Linked DNA regions of Homo sapiens: region 1 is linked to region 2. Evidence: promoter capture Hi-C in human tissues and cell types (Jung and others, 2019). All regions are on one chromosome and are shown on one strand. The core of a region is centred on a gene start or on the middle of the fragment in contact, and the rest is flanking DNA. Distances in the headings are between cores, read along the strand shown. Region 1 overlaps BABAM2 (BRISC and BRCA1 A complex member 2). Region 2 holds the start of ABHD1 (abhydrolase domain containing 1).

Region 1 (3,713 bases), core at 337-2,836, 1.2 Mb after region 2:
TGCAAAAGACACACAGTGTCCCATGACTTTGGCTGAGTATCCAAGCCTGAGATTGGCCATCTCTGCCTGCGATTGCCAGCTCAGTGTGATCAGTGAGAAGGGAGGGCCTGATCCAAGGAGCCTCGGGAAAGGCTGAACTGAGGACAAGGACCCTAGACCTCTCACAGGTTTCCCGCTTCGGCACACACGCGTTCTTCTGGCTGTTTCCACAGACTCAGAGCCTCTTCCCCTTGGCCCCAGCGGGTACCCATGATAATAGTTGACATCTATTGATCATCTCTTATGCCAGGTACCATGCCAAGCGCTTACCCAGACCATCTCATTCACTCCTCACAAGAACCCTTTAAGGTAGGCAGTTACTCCCGCCTTTTAGATGAAGAAACTAACGCTGCAGTCACTTGCCCTCATGATCAACGAGTAAGGAGTGTGGCCAGGCCTCGAGCCCAGTCCGCCTGGCTCCAGAGCCTGCCCCGCACAGGCTACCCTCACCTTCTACAGCCCACCGGCCTTAGGACCCTCAGTTATGGCACCCTGCTTTGTAGGTGAGGGAGCTGAAGCCCAGAAGAGATTTACCCTGGGCCCAAGGCCCACAAAAGTAGACCCCCTGACTCCTGATTCAGTTCCCTCCACCATGCCATGCCTGTGAGCTGAAGCCTGGGCCAGCCCTGCTTCTGCTCTGAATTCATGGGAAACCTACCCAGTCCTTACGTTTTCTTCTCCTAACTGAGACTCCTGGGTTGGACCGAGTTGTAATTTTATGAAACCCTGAGCAGAGAGACTGAGATCAGTGAAGAGGGACTGAACCTCATTTTGCCCTCAGGCATATTGAGCTCTAATGCCATCTAAAAATAGATTCCCTTACAGTGTGCATTCAGTGAGGAGCTTGACACTCAGGGCCCTCTCCTGTGGGCCCCACTTGGCCAGTTAATGGGGAGGTGAGAAGACTTCACTATCCCCTAGAACACGCTTACACTTTTAAAGCTTACTACATACTTTGTCTCTGGGTCAAAGGTTTTTTCAAAGATGACAGATACCTCTTGCCATTAGCAATCTGTACTCTGGGCAGCTCTCCATTTTCTCTGATAAAAAGTGAAATAAATGAAAACAGCGTTTTAAAAAATCTATAAATGGGTGGGAGCCAGTTGTCATTTTCCCTTTCCCCCTCCTCCCACTCCGTTAACTAACTTAATGAGGATCCAAGTTGAGAGGCACTCGCCGAAAACAGCTGGTAGCATCATGCCTTTAAATAGCCCTCGCCACGCTTCCCCTTGGCAGCACGCAGTTGGCCCTGGCAGGGAAAGCCCAGGACAGAACAGGAAACTTTAGAACTTTCTAAAAAGAAAAAAGCTTGCCTTTAAAACGTGCTCCCTTCTGTGTAAGGAGCTTGCAATGTTGTAGCCCCTTCCCCTAGAAGTTTACAAGGAAAGACTAAGCTGATGAGGCTTGCCTCGGGACCCAGTGTGACTCTGGGCCTGGGGAGGTAAGTGGAGGGCTCCCCGGACCCGACCCCTGCCCAGCTCAGGCCAGCGTCCAGGGCAGCAGTGGCTCCAGCACCATCTGCTCATCAGGCACCTGTGGGGGCTATAGTGCAGCTCAGCTGCAGCCTCTCCCCTTGATGTTCGTAGCTGTAAGGTCAGGGAAGGTGACGTCCTCACCTCTAACTTAGGGAACATTCAGCCCTCCCTGAAAGTGGTACTGGGATGGGCCAGACTCCACAGTGCACATCAGGCCAGAGTCCATGCAGCAGAGGTTGGTGGCAGCCTGTCGATCTCAGACCCTCTGGAGAAGCGGGGCCACAAGGCTCTCTCCGGCCGCACTTCCATGTTGCTGGGGAAATAGCAGCAGGTGAAACATATGGAAGGAATAAGTGGCCCTCACGTCTGGGTGGCAGCCAACAGTTGACTGTCTCCTCCCACACACTGTCCCATGCGAGTGTGGCATCAGGTGGCCTTATCACCCCTACTGTTCGTAAGGGAACAGAGCCCAGGGCTTCTCCTGCCCTGCCCGGCCTTGCCTAGGTCTGGAGCTCTGTCACACCACAGCACCCCTTTTGCATTAAGGGTGACTGTGGCGACTGTGGCATGGTGCCGTTAATGGATAAGGGCTTTGAGGTCCTGAGTGCCAGAGAAGGTGGCGGTTTGGCTGGCTCAGGGCTGTGCTGATCACAAGTGGATGGAAGAGGGTGCTTTTTCTTACTAACTGTTGGCAAAGTTTGAAATTTGAGAATGGACTAAAGTGTTCTTCCTTAGTACCTAAATATTGTACCTGTTCTCTTTCTGGAGCTGCTGTCTCTCCCACCTTCTTTTTTTTTTTTTTTTTTTTTTTTTTTGAGACAGAGTCTGGCTCTGCCGCCCAGGCTGGAGTGCCATGGTGCGGACGTGATCTTGGCTCACTGCAACCTCCGCCTCCCGGGTTCAAGCGATTCTCCTGCCTCAGCTTCCCAAGTAGCTGGGACTACAAGCGCCCACCACCACACCCGGCTAATTTTTATATTTTTAGTAGAGACGGGGTTTCGCCATGTTGGCCAGGCTGGTCTTGAACTCCTGACCTTGGGTGATACACCCGCCTCGGCCTCCAAAAGTGCTGGGATTACAGGCATGAGCCACTGCGCCCAGCCTCTCCCGCCTTCTTAAACAGCTTGTAATGGACATACTGTAACTGCTTCTTGCAAGCTCGTGGTCATCATTAGTTACATTAAAGCCACAGCCCATCACCAAGTGCTTTCTACACTGAGCCAGGCCTAGTGGTCACTGGGAGCAGGATGTGCTCCCGCTTTCCAGGGGCTGGCAGATAAGACCTGTGCACATGGGACAAGTGCCCCAGAAGAAGCACGGACAGTGTGCAGGGAGATGACCTCCTGGGGACCAGGGGAGACTTGATGGAAGCAGGAGTATTTGTCCTGAGCATGAATAAGCCCAGAGGTGGCAAATGGCATGTGTGAGGAAGAGCAAGTAGTCAAATGAGAAGAAGGGAGAGGCAGTAGATCCAGGGCTCGTATCCTGGACCGTGGCCAGCTCAGGGGGGTCTGTGACATCCCCGGGTTGCTGTGGGGCGTCTTACCTGCAGTTTCTCTGAGGAGAGGATCCTTCACTTTCTTAGCTTCTCAAAGGGTCGCATGATCTCAAAAAATGTGATAGAGGAACAGAATAGATTTTCTTCCTAATGACTTGGAGCCAGATAGAGTCATTGAATGCCAGGCTGAGAGTTTGGAGGACATTAAGGTCTTGGTCAGGAAAGGGACAGAGACTCACACTGTAAGAGAATCAGTGTAGCTGCAAACATAGGCAAAGGAGGCCTCATGTCCAGGGGAGAAGCAGCTTCTGCAGCAGTGCCATCGAAAGATAAGACAGGAGCTATGGGAGTCACTACGGATGGAGGGACTTAGCGGCAGGAACCTTGAGGATGAATTCACCGTAGGGGTTTAGGGAGAATGGAAACTGGTTCGGAAGGAAACTGAAGGTTCTGTTACAGAAAACCAAATTGGTCAGAGCATTTTCAGATACATAAAAGTGATGAAAACATCCATTTGGAACACTAGTTTGAGTTACAGAGTGACAGGTAGGGTGTCCCACAGGTGGTTGGAGACGTGGGACTGGAAGTTTGAGGGGAGGGAGGGCTGGGCTAGCGGTGCTGCAGGACCAGGAGTTCCCACCTTGCTCTGTGTGACCCCAAGGATGATGGCGCCTGGGAGTGCCGAAGGAGGGGCAGGGAGA
Region 2 (3,436 bases), core at 105-2,604:
TTCTACATGTCTGTGTCTAAATGCATCATCTTCCTCTTCAAACCTTCCTCTCCTCTGTTTCCCTGTCCCAGGGATGGACACTTTATATCTGTGCAGTCAGAAACCTGGAGGTCATCCATGTTCCTCCTTCTTCCCCTGCCTCCAATCTACTACCAGGTCCTATCAATTCTGCCACTGATCTTGAAGATCTTCACTCCTCTCCTGGGTATCCTCCAGTCCGGGCATCTTTTGAGCCTGGCGTTCTGTTAGCAGCCTCCCAGTGGCCTCTCTGCTTCTACTTTCCTCCTCCTCCAATCTATTCTCCAAGCAACTGAATGATTCTCCTAAAACATAACTCATGTCACCCTTCCCTTCTTAAAACCCCTGGATGGCTTTCCTCTGACCCTAGGATAAACTGCAGCAATTATGTGGTCCTTGACCACCCACATGCTCCAGCCACACCAACTTTCTTTGTTCCCTTAAGACATCCTTCACCTCCAGGCTTTTGCCTTTGCTGCCCCCTCTGCTAGAACACCCTCGCGTGAAGTCCGGGCACCTCCGCAGTGCTCCCATGGCAGCTGGTACTTCTCTTGTGTGGACCATGTTAAGCCCTGATGACTTGTGGACCTCCTAGAAGCTTTACGGTGTATTGATACCTAGGCTCCTCTCCAGACTAACTGTATCGGGGGTAGGGCCTGGGCACTGGTAGTTTTAAAAATCCTAGATGATTCCGATCTGCAGTCAAGGTTGAAAGCCACTACTCTTAGTAGACGACCTCCTATATTTCAATGAAGACACGGACAGTAACATGGGGGGTCTGTATCAAGTGCCTGGTACAGGGCGGGTGGTGAGCAAATTATCTACTGTACGAGGACTGTGTGGCAGGGACTGTATGAGACAATGCAGAGTGACACTGCAGGAAGGTGCATGTGTTGCAATGCCACCACTGAGCAGCTGAAAGCTTTGTGACAGTGTGGGGTGTCACAGTCGGACAGTGACTGGTGAGGGTCACTGTGAATGGCTGTAGTGTGTGACAGAGCAGAATGTCACTGCAGGAGTAGCTGTGTCCTGTGCGTGACTGACTGCGAGCGCCTAAGGGACTCTGGCCAGGCTGCTGGACTCGGGGCGTCGCCGGGGAAGAGTTTAAGGGAGCTGGAGATGCCCCGCACCAAGATGGCAGCTGGGGGAGGCCGCTTGTCTCGGGCTGCACAGCCAAGAACCGCGGAGGGGAAGAAGGCAGGGGAGGGCGGGAGGCCATTCGCAGGTCACTCGGGTTAGATCCGCGCGAGGCACTAGGCGACCAGCCACCCAGCCCCGCGACCAACTAGCGCCGCCTCTCGCCGCCCATCCCGGGGCACCGGCGGTGGGCGGGGCCAGCAGCGCAAACTGCCTGCAGCGGGGACCGGACCTGCACAGGCCGCCTATGGCGGGCGGCGGGTGGGACCGCGAGTTACAGCCGGCCAACTGGGGCCAGCCAGGAGCCTGAGGGTCGGAAGCCCCCAACACAAGATGCTGAGCTCCTTCCTGAGCCCCCAGAATGGCACCTGGGCAGACACCTTCTCTCTGCTCTTGGCTCTTGCCGTTGCCCTCTACTTGGGCTACTACTGGGCATGTGTGCTTCAGGTGGGTGCGGGTCCACCGCTCTGGCCAGCGGGTTTGGGTGTAGGGGGCAGCTTCCAGACACGGGCTTGGGCCCTTGGTGGGAACTGGGATGGTTGGGCTTCCCCACAGGTGAAATTTGCTACCACCGAATGGAGAGTCGGCTCTGCCTCTCTAGTGCCTCTGCATCCCATGTGATCCCCATGCCAGCTGGGCCTTTTGGGTACCGGAGGGTGCTGCTCCCTATAATGTGGACAAGCATTTGGGGAAAGGTGGGGTGGAAGGCATCCTGAGGTATCAGAGATGTGCACACTTTGCGTTCCTTTTTAGGTGGTTTAGCTGAGTCTTTCAGCTGCACTGAAGGAAGGAACCAGAGGTCTGTGGGTCATGGCTAACTCCCAATACCACCCACCCCCCAAATAGCTTAGTAGGACCTCCCTTCCCTTAAGGGCTGGCTGAGGTCAGAACTGGCCTAGCTCAGAACTGATGGATGACCCCAACTGTCCTTGCTCATTCAGCCGTTTTATGTTCCAGGCTCTCCATATAGTGAGTGTGATGAGAAAGTTTGAAGAGGTTGATTTTGATGAATTTGGAGACTTTTCTCACTGAAATTTAGATATATACATAATTTACATATCCAGGAAAAGCCAAATCTCTTCATCTTCATTAAACTCTGTTCTAGGTAGCTGAGTCTAACAAGACACCTACTGGTTCGAGTCCTTTAAAAAGGTCTATAGGAGACTTTAGTGTTACCTAGACTTTTCCATATTTTCAGAGCTTTCTACATTAGCATATATTGTTTACTAAATGTCTTCCTTAGGGCCGGGTGTGGTGGCTCACGCCTGTAATCCCAACACTTTGGGAGGCAGAGGCGGGAGGATCGCCTGAGGTCGGGAGTTCGAGAGCAGCCTGACCAACATGAAGAAACCCCATCTCTACTAAAAATACAAAAATTAGCCAGGCATGGTGGCACATGCCTATAATCCCAGCTACTCGGGAGCCTGAGGCAGGAGAATCACTTGAACCTGGGAGGCGGAGGTTGCAATGAGCCTCGTGCCATTGCACTCCAGCCTGAGCAACAAGAGTGAAACTCCGTCTCAAAAAAAAAAAAAAAAGTCTTCCTTAATAAAACAGTTAAAAACTCCAAGCCTCACAATACTCTGTAGGCCTCACTTTATACATCAGATTTGGAAGGTCACTTCAGAACAAAACTGCCCCTAAGGAAACACTTTCCTTTACTTGCAACTAGCTGCACAGAAATCTGGGCCCCTGCTGCTTTATAGACTAAACCCTTTATAAGCTAACGAATACTGGTTAAAATGCAGGAAAAGTGCCATTCTGGAGGCCCTCTAGATACGGTGTTTGGATTGGCCAGCACTGTAATGGATCTATACTGATTTAAGCATAGCAACCAGTGCCATATTGTAATACTAATTCATTCTCAGGAGGGAGTCAAGAAACATTTTCTTGAGTTAAAATCAAATTAACCCACATAAATCAAACCTGTGAACAAATTTATAAGTCTTGTTCCACACTACTGGGCCGTTTGACCAAGGAATTAATAAACTGATAGTAACTCAGCCGAGCACAGTGGCTCATGCCTGTAATCCCAGCATTTTGGGAGGCTGAGGCGGGCGAATCACTTGATGTCAGGAGTTCGAGACCCGCCTGGCCAACATGGTGAAACCCCTATCTCTACTAAAAATACAAAAATTAGTTGGGTGTGGTGACGCAAGCCTGTCATCCCAGCCACTCAGGAGGCTGAGGCAGGAGAATCGCTTGAACCCAGGAGGCGGAGGTTGCGGTGAGCTGAGATGGCACCACTGCACTCCAGCCTGGGTGTCAGAGCAAAACTCCG

Evidence for each region. Contacts are between HindIII fragments. The study calls those that stand out against the background at their distance.
Region 1: a contact is called between a fragment that was not itself captured here and the fragment with the promoter of ABHD1 in region 2, in 1 of the 25 tissues and cell types used here (aorta).

Annotation. Positions count from the first base shown.
Region 1 is chr2:28,332,853-28,336,565 of GRCh38, forward strand. The region is part of intron 11 of BABAM2 (BRISC and BRCA1 A complex member 2); the gene reads left to right. Among named protein-coding and RNA genes, the nearest start is that of BABAM2-AS2, 24 kb to the left of the region's middle. RefSeq lists a silencer at 3,216-3,416. The HindIII fragment of the contact is 4,592 bases long and covers 1-3,713 here.
Region 2 is chr2:27,122,461-27,125,896 of GRCh38, forward strand. ABHD1 (abhydrolase domain containing 1) reads left to right here and starts at 1,355. Exons shown (of 9, transcript NM_032604.4): 1 at 1,355-1,602. The coding sequence starts at 1,489. RefSeq lists silencers at 1,200-1,279, 1,300-1,439. The HindIII fragment of the contact is 4,226 bases long and covers 779-3,436 here.